3 separate regions of the Homo sapiens genome follow, and all the other regions are linked to region 3. The links are contacts of gene promoters, found by promoter capture Hi-C in human tissues and cell types (Jung and others, 2019). All regions are on one chromosome and are shown on one strand. The core of a region is centred on a gene start or on the middle of the fragment in contact, and the rest is flanking DNA. Distances in the headings are between cores, read along the strand shown. Region 1 overlaps LIN9 (lin-9 DREAM MuvB core complex component). Region 2 has its middle 13 kb from the start of LINC01703. Region 3 holds the start of MIXL1 (Mix paired-like homeobox).

The links. Contacts are between HindIII fragments. The study calls those that stand out against the background at their distance.
Region 1: a fragment that was not itself captured here is called in contact with the fragment with the promoter of MIXL1 in region 3 in 3 of the 25 tissues and cell types used here (aorta, lymphoblastoid cells and mesenchymal stem cells).
Region 2: a contact is called between a fragment that was not itself captured here and the fragment with the promoter of MIXL1 in region 3, in 2 of the 25 tissues and cell types used here (IMR-90 fibroblasts and mesenchymal stem cells).

What each region holds. Positions count from the first base shown.
Region 1 is chr1:226,300,368-226,304,642 of GRCh38, reverse strand. LIN9 (lin-9 DREAM MuvB core complex component) reads left to right here. Exons shown (of 15, transcript NM_001366245.2): 2 at 3,438-3,470. LOC124904831 (small nucleolar RNA U13) reads right to left here and starts at 381; the gene lies at 280-381. The HindIII fragment of the contact is 3,558 bases long and covers 891-4,275 here.
Region 2 is chr1:226,094,619-226,098,574 of GRCh38, reverse strand. No RefSeq gene overlaps it. Among named protein-coding and RNA genes, the nearest start is that of LINC01703, 13 kb to the right of the region's middle. The HindIII fragment of the contact is 4,552 bases long and covers 1-3,826 here.
Region 3 is chr1:226,222,116-226,226,026 of GRCh38, reverse strand. It overlaps MIXL1 (Mix paired-like homeobox), which reads right to left and starts at 2,363. Exons shown (of 2, transcript NM_031944.3): 1 at 1,953-2,363; 2 at 1-520. The coding sequence starts at 2,345. The coding sequence ends at 215. LOC124904528 (a long non-coding RNA gene) reads right to left here and starts at 3,888. Exons shown (of 2, transcript XR_007066907.1): 1 at 3,803-3,888; 2 at 3,529-3,688. RefSeq lists a silencer at 1,645-1,939 and an enhancer at 1,985-2,044. The HindIII fragment of the contact is 15,954 bases long and covers 1-3,911 here.

The DNA.
Region 1 (4,275 bases), core at 1,420-3,919, 78 kb before region 3:
ACAGCTAGTTTTTTAGATGTTACCTCCTCAGAGAAACCGTCTGTACTCAAAAGTAAGGTAGCTAGTACTTAGAGTAATTCCCCCGTCCCCACCAATATCACCCTGTTTATTTCCTTTATCATGAGCTATAATTATTATGTACGTGTTTTATATATATATGTCTCTTTCCACTAGAGTTTAAGCTTCCTGTGAGGAGAGGCTTTGTTTGTCTTGTTCTTTGGGGTAACCCTCGCCCCTAACAGTGCTTATGGTAGGCATTCAATAAAATTTTTTTTTCCACATCAGATGGGTCATGTGCTGACTTTTCACAAAGTTTGAGAGAGACACATCTCACACATGAGTATGAAAACCCAATCATCATGCTTATGAACTAAGAAGGGTAGAATCTTTGGATTAATGAACACCTCGTTAGAGCAAGATTCTAATTTAATCAGATTCGCCTGACTGAAAAATCCATGTTCTTAACCTATTATTTTTTGATTGCTCAAAATAATACTAACAGCATTATATCAAAATTAACTGTGTAATATATGCATTGTTCTATGCACTTTTACATGTATTAACTCATTTAATCCTCATTTTACACATGAAGAAACAATAGCACAGAGAGGCAAAGTAACTTGCTTAAGGTAGCATGCAAGAAAGTGTCAGGACCAAGATTCAAACATAGCTAGTCTCAATCTAGAACCTGTTTTCTTAACCACTATGCTATCCTGCATCTAGAAAAAGGAAAGAAGGACCGGTTGCGGTGGCTCACGCCTATAATCCCAGCACTTTGGGAGGCCGAGCCGGGTGGTCACCTGAGGTCAGGAGTTCGAGACCAGCCTGGCCAACATGGCGAAACCCTGTCTCTACTAAAAATACAAAAATTAGCTGCGTATGGTGGCATGCACCTGTAATCCTAGCTACCTGGAAGGCTGAGGTGGGGAGAATTTCTTGAACCCGGGAGGTGGAGGTTGCAGTGAGCTGAGATTGCGCCACCGCACTCCAACCTGGGTGACAGAGTGAGACTCCATTTCAAAAAAAGAAAAAGAAAAAAGAAAACGAAAAAGAAAAAAAAGGTTAAAGGTGATTGGTCAGAATCCCCAAGATATGGTTCCTGCCTTCGTGGAGCAGGAGTGGATATTCTTATGGCCTATATACCTCTTCCTTCAGATCTCTGCTTAAGCATCACCTTTCATAGAAGCTCATCATGAACACCTTATATACAAATAGTTTTCCTTCCCTCCATCCCCACCCTGCGTATTCTTCTTCTTCTGCTTTATTTTTTCCAGAGTGCTTATCATTACTCGATAGCTGTTTTTGTTTGCCTCCCATCACTAGAATGTACATTCCATGAGAGCAGGGACTTTGACTATTTTGCTTGCTGTTGTATTCCCATTGCCTAGAGCAGGTAGGGACTGGCATGCCATCAGTACTCTACATATTCAGTGAGTGAATGGTTACTACTTTTTCTCAAATGCACTGCATATCTTTTGGTACACAGATGTGTGTATTGTCTACTATTGCTGCTTTACAGTTGTGTTTCATTGTTTGAGACTTTTTAGCAAGATTTTATGTCATTCACCCCCATGACTTTACTGCCTTTTGTCATTAAGCTTCATTTGCCATGCAGAAGCTTTTATGGTGTCCTGTTAACTATTCTTCACATCTGGGCAAGAGAGTAGAGTGAAAGTAAGTGTCTTTAATGCTAATAGGTGTCTGTTTCACAAGTCTCTTACACAGACCTGTGGAGGAAAAAGTCAGTTGAGGTTTAGTGATCAGAGATGCATAGTGTTTAAGGATCTGAGATGAAGTGTTTCATAACTGCCATACTTTATCTGTTGCTTCTCATTTTAAGTCTGTTATCCATTTATATGAGATGTAAATCATAGCTGCTTTTGTTAAATAGCAAGGAGGATTAATCCGTCCTCTCTGATTTTTGTTCCTAGTTCATGTTCTTTTTTATTTAATCCCCTGAGATCATCCTTAATTATTATTTTTCAGATGACTTGGACTTTGCAATGTATACATCCAATTCTGAGATTTTTAAATTTAGTGCTTTCTCACTCTCAAAAAGCTTCTTTCTCTATTGGTTTGTTTTTTTTTTTTTTTTGGACATGGAGTCTCACTCTGTCACCCAGGCTGGATGGAGTGCAGTGGCGCAATCTTTGCTCACTGCAAGCTCTGCCTTGTGGGCTCACGCCATTCTCCCACCTCAGCCTCCCGAGTAGCTGGGACTACAGGTGCTCGCCACCACACCCAGTTAATTTTTTGTGTTTTTAGTAGAGACGGGTTTTCACCGTGTTAGCCAAGATGGTCTTGATCTCCTGACCTTGTGATCCGCCCACCTCGGCCTCCCAAAGTGCTGGGATTACAGGCGTGAGCCACCGCACCCGGCCTCTCTATTGATTTTTCTACTTTCCCTACCCATAGATCCTATAATTCATTCACACCAGAACCTGTAGCCTGATGTTTCTCAAAGTGGGTTACCTGCAACAGAATCCCCTGTTGTTTATTAATAATATAGATTCAGTCTAGATTTTGCATGTATGAGGAGCTTCCTTGTTATTCTAATGTCTTTTTTATTTTTTTGAGGCAGAGTCGTACTCTGTCTGTCAGGCTGAAGTGCAGTGGCACGGTCACAGCTCACTGCCGCCTCAACCTCCCAGGCTCCAGCAGGCCTCTCACATCAGCCCCCTGAGTAGCTGACACTTTAGGCACGTGCCCCCATACCCAGTGAATTAAAAACATTTTTTTAGAGACAGGATCTCCTTATGTTGCCCAGGCTGGTCTCAGACTCCTGGCCTCAAGCTAGCCTTCCCACCTTGGCCTTCCAAAGCACTGGGATTACAGGTGTCAGCCATCATACCTGGCCTCTAATGTACACTGGAGTTTGTTTTATCCAGTGGACCCCTCCAACTTTATTCTAGCCCCTCTTGGCCATTCTGTATTCCCTTTTCCAGCTTAGATCTTGAAGTATCACATATACCTGCATTCTAGACTTTCAAGGGACTTATTGCTTGCTCTGACAGTCCCTGAATCATTTCCATTGCCTGTTTTTTTCCACTCCATTACTACATCAGTCTTTGCCTCAATGGATGTCGGTTCCCTTTCTCTTTTCTTCCAGCACCACAGCACGCCTGGATGAGGATCCAAAATTACCTCTGTCCCCACTCTTCCTCTTTCTTCTGTTTCTTCACTTTCTTCTCCTGGAATGGTCTCCAGTTCTCACAACTTCAGCAAGACTCTCATATGTCTCTCTCCAGTTCTTTCTTTATCTGAGTTCTGGTTTATAGTTTGAATTGTCTGCCAGATATTTCGAATTGCACATTCCACCATCTCTTCAAACTCAACATTACTAAAACTAAATGGATCACTTTTACCCCCAAACCAAGGTCTTTTTCTCTCACTTTGGTTATGAAATAATTATTGATTTGTTTTATTTTTAATTGCAGGCTCTTCAGCAAAAGCCCTTGTCAGTTTAAAAGGTAAGAAGTATAGCATTTTTAGGTATACCATAGCTAAAAGTCTAATTTGTTAAATTAATCTGGATATAGTGTTTCCATTTTCCTTCTAAGTTATGATTCATTGTAGCTTTTCAGTATTGGTTTTCACTGATAACCTTAAATTAATATGCTTTTATAGGAGAATTGATCCTCAGTTGTTAGAAATTATTTTTAAAAATTTCTAAAATTATTGATTAAAAACCTTTCTAATTAAACATTCCATAAATATTTAGATTAAAAGCATTTGTTAAACGACTGTGCTGACCTATATGTTAGCATAATTGTTTGTTTGTTTGTTTTTGAGACAGTCTCTCTCTGTTGCCCAGGCTGGAGTACAACGGTGCAATCTTGGCTCACTGCAACCTCTGCGTCCCAGGCTCAAGCGATTCTCCTGCCTCAGCCCCCTGAGTAGCTGGGATTACAGGCATGTGCCACCATGCCTGGCTAATTTTTGTAATTTCAGTAGAGACGGGATTTCACCATGTTGGCCAGGCTGGCCTCAAACTCCTGGCCTCAAGTGATCTGCCCACCTTGGCCTCCCAAAGTGCTGGGATTACAGGCGTGAGCCACTGTGCCCAGCAGATTTTTTGTTTATTTATTTTTTGAGACAGGGTCTCGCTTTGTCACACAGGCTAGAGTGTGGTGATGTGATTACAGTTCACTGTAGCCTCGACCTCCTGGGCTCAAGTGATCCTCTTGCCTCAGCTTCCCATGTAGCTGGGACCACAGGCACATGCTACCATGCCCAGCTAATTTCTTTATTTTTTGTAGAGAGGAGGCCTCACTT
Region 2 (3,956 bases), core at 301-2,800, 130 kb after region 3:
CCAGAATGGGTAGGGGCTATATTTTGGGTAAGCTGGGGGAAAGTGGAACTGATGTTCTCTGAGCTGTGCTCTAGGAATCAGAGAGCAGATGGAGGCTGGAGGTAACTGGGAAGGAGCCCACACCTTTCTGGGCATCCTTTGTCATCCATCTTCCTATGTCCAGGCAGGAGCCAACCTGCTCTCCAACCTGGCTTGCACTTGGCTGAACAGACAGTCACTGCCCACTGAGTACCCGTGGGCTCTTCTACCTTTCCAGAACCCTGGCTGCTGGCCAGTGGGCTAGTGCTGGCCAATTGGCTATAATCGGAAGTGTGACCTATATGTGAAAGCAAACAGAGTCTTGGGACCCCAAACTCACTATGCCAAAGGGAAAGTTAAGTTTGGGAACTGAGTCACAGAAAAACTGCCTTCCTTTTGTTCCCAAACAGATAGCGGTAGTTTCACAATCCTGTGTCATAGCCTCATTCGTAAGCCAGGTTCCCACAACAATAGAAGGCTACATATTTCCCAAATTGTTCACAAGGAAATTCCCTGTGGGCCCCTAAACCTTTCAGAATACACATTCCCCTATAAGCTAGTTCTAAAATCAAGTTCTGTTAAACTTCACCCTGACAATGTCAATTATCAGCTTATCTTCACAGGGACAGGATAAGGACAAGACTAGAAATCATCCCTCCTCCTACCCCAAGACTTTGCATAATTGACTTGGTCCTCTGTTTCACATGTAAAAGGTACATTCACTAAGGCTAATAGGAACCTAAGATTGTATCCATTTGCCTCATTGTCTACCCTTCTAGGAGCGCAGTGGAGCGATCTCGGCTTACTGCAACCTCCACCTCCTGGGTTCAAGTGATTCTCATGCCTCAGCCTCACAAATAGCTGGGATTACAGGCATGCATCACCATGCCTGGCTAATTTTTGTATTTGTAGTAGAGACAGGTTTGCACCATGTTGGCCAGGCTGGTCTCGAACTCCTTGCCTCAGGTGCTCCACCTGCCTGGATCTCCCAAAGTGCTGGGATTACAGGCGTGAGCCACCACGCCCAGCCCCCTTACCCCGTTTTTTTTTTTTTTTTTTTCCTCTTCTGCTTGCTCTTTCCCCTTCAAATACTGAAGTTCCTGAAACCTTCCTTGGAAAAATCACAGGTTGTAGATGCTTCTGTGACTTGTTTTTGTTTTGTTGGTTTTTTTGCATCCTCAATCATGGTTAAATAAGCTTCTAATCAATTGAGACCTGCCTCAGTCACTTTTTGGTTTACATGTGTCACTACTGGATCAAAAGGTGTAAGTTCTCCATGCCCTCTCTTCCCATGCCATGGTGACTGGTGATTGTCTAGATGGTGGCTCTTCTAGCAACCTGGATCCCTGAGACCCTAGGTGGAACAGAGCCCTGCCCTTCCATCCTCTTTTCTCCACTGCACTGAGCGTATAACATGATTGAGAAATATACTTTGTTGTGTGAAGTCATTGAAGTTTGGGGCTGATTTACTGCGGTAGAACCTAGCCTCACCTGACTAATAGACCAGCTGAGGGAGCTCCTTGCTCAGCGGCATGGGTTCCCCCGACACCCCCACCCCACACAGAGGTAGGCTGGGGTTGAGCAGAGCAGGGGAGGACAGCAGGACTTTGACCCCTGGAGGATTTGGCTTGGATTTCCCTCTCTTTTTTTTTTAATTTAAAAAAATGTATTTATTTATTTACTTAGAGACAGGGTCTTGCTGTGTTGCCCAGGCTGGAGTGCAATGATGCAACCTTAGCTTACTGCAGCCTCGGACTCCTGGGCTCAAGTAATCCTCCCACCTCCGCCTCCTGAGTAGGTAGGACTACAGGAACACACCACCACATCTGACTAATTTTTTTTTTTTTTTTTTTTGTAGAGATAGGTTTGCTATGTTCCCTAGGCTGGTCTCAAACTTCTGGCCTCAAGCAATCCTCCAGCCTCAGCCTTCCAAACTGCTGGGATGACAGGTGTGAACCACCACCCCTGGCTCAGACCTCTCAAAGGGCTCACTGCCTCCAGGGGGACCACAGCTGGGCTGAGCCTGCATTGCCTGAGCGCATACACCTCCACTGTAGAGGGAGAGGGCACCTGCCAGTGGAGGTCAGCCGCAGGCAACACAAGGTGGATTGTGTCTGAATCACCAGTAGCTCTATACAGCAAGGACCCTGTCCTTGAAGCACTGAGGCTGGAGACCAGACTGGGTCCTCAAGGCAACAGCTTCAGTCACCTCCTCCAGCCTTTCCTCCGAGGGGAGCTCTGAGCAAGACAAGCTTGATCATGTTACTTCCCTACTTAAAAACCTAGGATAGGGGCCAAGCAAAGTGGCTCATACCTGTAATCCCAGCACTTTGGGAGGCCGCGGCGGGGGCGAGCGGATCACTTGAGGTCAGGAGCTCAAGACCAGCCTGGCCAACATGATGAAACCTCATCTCCACTAAAAATACAAAAATTAGCTGGGCGTGGTGGTGTGCACCTGTAGTCCCAGCTACTCAGGAGGCTGAGGCAGGAGAATTGCTTGAACCCAGGAGGCAGAGGTTGCAGTGAGCTGAGAGGGTGCCATTGCACTCCAGCCTGGACGACAGAGCTAGACTCTGTCTCAAACAAACAAACAAACACACACCACCTCCAATAGGCCAGGCTGCTCATGCCTGTAATCCCAGCACTTTGGGGAGCTGAGGCAGGAGGACTCTTGAGTCTAGGAGTTGGAAACTAAACAGGGCAACATAGAGAGACCCTGTCTCTGATTAAACAAACAAACAAAACCCATAAAAATTAGGATAAGGTCCACATACCCTGGTCAAGCTTCAAGGTTGTTTGCAACCTGGCCCCAGGAAAGCAAAGTCCTGAAGAGTGGCTGCGGCAGACTGGCTCCTTCACCATTGCTCTGCTACAGCCACTACCAAGAGTTTTGTCTTCCCCAACTCCCTGATAGGTTCATGCACCTGGACAGTGGCATAAGCCATTCCCCACACCTAGAATGCCCTCACATGTCTCCTGCCCCTTTGCCTCTCTGGCCTGCTTTCGCTCCCTCCACCCTCTAGGACTCCCTCCAGCTCCTTATGGCCTGGAGGTCCCTGCCCACAGTCCCTGCTGCCTCTCTGAGGTGCAGACAAGGGATCATCATCGTCCCCTTCCCAAACTCTGTGCCAGGCATGATGCTGGGTGCTGTATACAGAAGTGAGCAAAGTGAACACAGTCCTTGCCCTCCTGGAGCTGATGGTCTTGGGGGCAAATAATCAGACAAATAAATCTAGAAATCTCACACTGAAGGAAAAACAGGGTGGAAGGGATCTATTCTAGAGGTGAGTGGGGGTTGCTAGGGAAGATCTCTTCAAGGAGGTGGGGTTTTGTTTTTCTTGTGGTTTTTTAGAGATGGGGTCTCCTTCTGTTGCTCAGGCTGGAGTGCAGTGGCATGATCACGGCTCACTGCAGCCTCCAATTCCTGGGCTCAAGTGATCCTCCCACATCAGCCTCCTGAGTAGCTGGGACTAACAGGTATGCACCATCAGGCCCAGCTGAAGAGGTGGTTTTTAAACTGATGCTTCCTCAGGGTGGAGAGGCCTTGCTGGATAGCGGGCAGGAGTGTACAGGAGGAGAAGGAAGAGCATGTGCCCAAGCCCTGAGCAAAGGTGGGAGAGGGTAGAAGAATGACCCTAAACTGCAGAACCCTGTAAAACCCAGGGCATTCTCCTTCCCCAGCATTTTCCTCTTCTGCTTCTCTTTCTCTCCCCCATCCTGTTTTCCCACCAGCCCTGCCCCCCACCCTTAACTATGGCAGGTGCCAGGGATGCACCTAGCACTGTGCTTAGGCTTTACACACTGTCATTCCCCAGCAGCCCTGGGAGACAGGTGTAATCATACCCATTTTACAGACCAAATAACTGAGACTTGGAGAGGTTAAGAGAACTGCCCAGGGTTGCTGGCCAGCAAGTGGTGAAACACATATTCAAGCCAGG
Region 3 (3,911 bases), core at 1,114-3,613:
AATGCGGGAACTCTGGGGTGGGAGTGTGGGCTTAAAACGTCATTGACAAAGTGGCGGGGTACCTTCAAATGTGAGAGGTGCTGTCAAAACCATCATCAAGGTTAACAAGGACATGTCCTTAGCATGGAAGTCAGAAAGGACAGTATGCTGATGTGTCTCTCCCAGGCTGTCAGTCATGGCTCCTCAGAGCTTATCCCGAATTCTCCCAGAATCCTCAAAAGTTACCAAAGGCAGAAAAGATGTGTTCCTCCCATGAGTCCAGCTTTGAACCAATGTCTTCAGAGAGAGGGGAACAGGTTTCAAAATTCTGACCTTGGGAGCTAGAGTCAGAGATGCCCCCTCCAACCCCGTTTGGTTCGGGCAGGCAGTTCACATCTACCTCAAGAGGCAGCTGGGGCTTCAGACATTTCGTTTCAGTTCCAGGAGCACAGTGGTTGAGGATAATCTCCGGCCTAGCCAAAGGTTGGAAGGATTTCCCACTCTGACGCCGAGACTTGGCACGCCTGTTCTGGAACCATACCTGGAAGAGGGGAGAAAATAAAAGCTGCTTTTGGTTGGAGTTTTTTATGCTAACATTATGTTCACAGTTCATACTGGTAAGTTCCAGTTTAACATCCCCTGGCTTCCTCTCCAGAGCCTTGTCTTCAGAAAGCACTTGGGTTGACGATTAGAAGTTCAGAACACCTGGCTTTCCTTGCCTCCCCATTCCCAGATGGAAACATTGGAATAATGCCTAGTTCTATCTACTCTTTAGTTAGAGAAATTTTCATGAAAAATGGGGTCACAAAAATGGAAGCACTTAGAATTCTTAGAAAAAAACTGCATTAAATTATGAAGAAAACCTGTTTTTTAAGGTCTGCACTCCCTTGTCAAACTAATCAAGGAGGTATTTTGCTCATGCCAGCTGTTGAGACTGACAGCTGTATGACCGCCAGGGGTGCAGAGAAAACAAGTCCACTCTCCCAGTGTTTAAATGAGGGCTGCTACTTAAAACTGCGCTTGGACACCGACCACGGGGCTACAGACAGACAAAAAGGCAGGCTTCTCCTTACCAACTCTAAGATTCTGATCTAAATTACTTTAGATAATAAACACGGCCGGGCGCGGTGGCTCACGCCTGTAATCCCAGCACTTTGAGGCGGGTGGATCACCTGAGGTCAGGAGTTCGAAACCAGCCTGACCAACATGGTAAAACCCCGTCTCTACTAAAAATACAAAAATTAGCTGGGCGTGGTGGCTGGCGCCTGTAATCTCAGCTACTCGGGAGGCTGAGGCAGGAGAATCACTTGAACCTGGGAGGCGGAGGTTGCAGTGAGCCCAGATCGCGCCATTGCACTCCAGCCTGGGCAACAAGAGTTAAAACTCCATCTCAAATAAAAACTAAATAAATAAAAATAAACACACCTTGCACTAGATTTTTCAAACTGAAAACAAGCTCCAGGTGCTTCTCGCTTTATCTCAATTCGCTACATCCTTTCAAATCTAATCCCAAAACGTAACACTTGCCAAGAAAGTAGCATGGGGGTAACTTGGCGAGCCAGCCTTCCCCGTTTTCAGCTACCATTCTCACGCTCAAAGCCAGAGGAAAACCCCAACTGCCCCTCATCTGTGTCTTCTTCCCGGATAAAGAAAAAGTGTAAAACTTCTTATCTTCCTGCTGGGAATTACTTTCTGGCCATTTCAGGGGACCGGCTAGCCTCCTAGGAGCCCTTATTATATTTAATAATGAGAGAAATCGTTCAGTGCAGGCCTAAATTATTTCACACAGGCCTCGCAACCACCCTATGCAGCAGGTGCCGATATCACCCCCTATTTCAGTCTAGTACGCAGAGCCTCAGGGGAAGCACCGTGCCTGCAACGTCCCGGGTGTGGCCTCAGGAGCCCGCAGTCCAGACCTAGAGTCCGCAGCGCCTCCGCTCCAGCGCGCACTTGCGAACGCAGCGGGCCCTCACCTGGATCCTGGACTCGGGGAGCAGGGTGAGCGCGGCCAGGCGCTCGCGCAAGTGGATGTCGGGGTACCGGGTCCGGCGGAAGACGAGCTCCAGCAGCTGCAGCTGTTCGGCGCTGAAAGACGTGCGCTTGCGGCGCTGCGACGCCGACGGGGCGGCCGCGCCTTTGGGGGGCGCAGGCGAGCCCAGGCTGGCGGGGGGCGGCGGGGCCGGCCCGGGGTCCCGGCCGAGGAAGCCCGCAAAGGTCGCTGGGCCGGGGCCCGCGGGCGGCGCAGGGAGCAGGGCTGCCGCAGGGCTCGGGGGCGGCAGGAGCGCCCCGCCGGCGTGGGGGGCCCGGTACGCTGGAAACGCGGCGCCCTCGGCAAACTGGAGCGCACGGGACTCGGCTGTGGCCATCGCTCCGGAACCCAGCGCGCCGCTCGGAGGGGCGCGGGCCGCACTTATACCCTCCCGGGCCAGGGGCTGGGAAGGCGGGGCGGTGCGATCAAAGGTGGGCTCGGGGAGACCCGTGTCTCCTCCGGGTGCGAGCCCGCCCCCGGCCCCGCCAGACGCCGGGGAATAATCGCTTCCGCCGGCTGCGGGATGCAGGAGGGAGGCGTGAACTTGGGTCCCGGCCCCCTCCGTGTTCTTCCCCGCCCACCCGCCCGGACGGCGCAATCCACATCCCCGAAGGACTATTTGCCTGGGAGGGGCAGCCCGGAGGGGCCCGGGTGCGCGGGCCGCAGGCGACAGAACTCTCTTCTCCGGGTCAAATCCCCGTTAAGAGCGGCGGAAGCACCTTGCCTGGCCTGTGCCTTACATGGCCTGGGCCTTGAGCCTTGCCCTAGTCCCGTCTGTCCTCATCAAAGCTATTTATTTACCACCCCTGCTATGTGCTAGACCCTGTACCAGGTTGGTCAAACAGCCCGGCCCCTGTCTTCTGCAAGCCTCCCTAACACATCCTGAATCCAAGCGGGGAGGGGGGTGAAGATAAAGGATCCAGGGGGCAGCACATTCCTCCTGATTAAATGGGTGGGGGGAGTGGGGGGGTCTGGCTGGAATGTCCATGGGCCCACCAATAAAGATACCCTAGGTAGGGCGGGGTTGGCAACGTGCCCCATTAGCAGAGGATACGGCGCAGTTTGGCCTTTCTGGAGATACTCAACAATGCTTAAGACCCGTCTATTGGATGGGAGGAGATGAAAGCCACCTCATGAAGTTTCCACGCGCCCTGAATCATCATTCTTTCCTCTGCCCCTTGGGGCTCTGAAAGCTCCCATTTTCTCTACTTTGTGCTATGGTTATGGTTTCTCTATCTGCTAGATATAAAGTCTTAGCAAGCAGGAACCCACCTCTCCCTTTCTGAGTTTATTGAGTGTCTGCTTTGTACACCTATTCTGCGTGAGGCGCGGTGCTAGGCCCCTTAGTGAATGTCTGTCGAATTGGATGTCACTGAGCTCTCCTTATTGAAAGAGAAACCCATGGTCCACTATGGGAACTGCCCCACCACAGTGCAAGAACTCAAGAGAGGAACACAGAGGCCCAGGTCTTTTTGCCCCCAGCACCTGAGCGCTGATTTCACCGGGATCACTCACTGTGGTCGACTCAAAGGGAGATCTTTATTGGGAGGATCTTTCAGGGCACAATCCCCGTCCTGTCTCTGCATTCTAGAAGGTCAAAAGACAGTCTCAGAAGAGCTTGGATCTTTTTATCCTGGGTGGACATTCCAGGTGGCAAAGCGGAAAGTTTTCTTGGAGCTGCTGCAGAGAAGAATTTTGGGCTTGATTCTCTCCTGGCTGTGGTAAGGGGTGGGGTTGGCAGGGACTGTGTCCTGTGTAGCCCCTGAGGCCCTTCTGGGCAGCTGATATACTTACCTCCTGCTCTTCCATCTTCCTTCCACCCCTTCTCCTTTCTTTCCCCCTCTTCTCTTGGTTGCAGTGAGCCAAGATTGTGCCATTGCACTCCAGCCTGGGCAACAAGAGT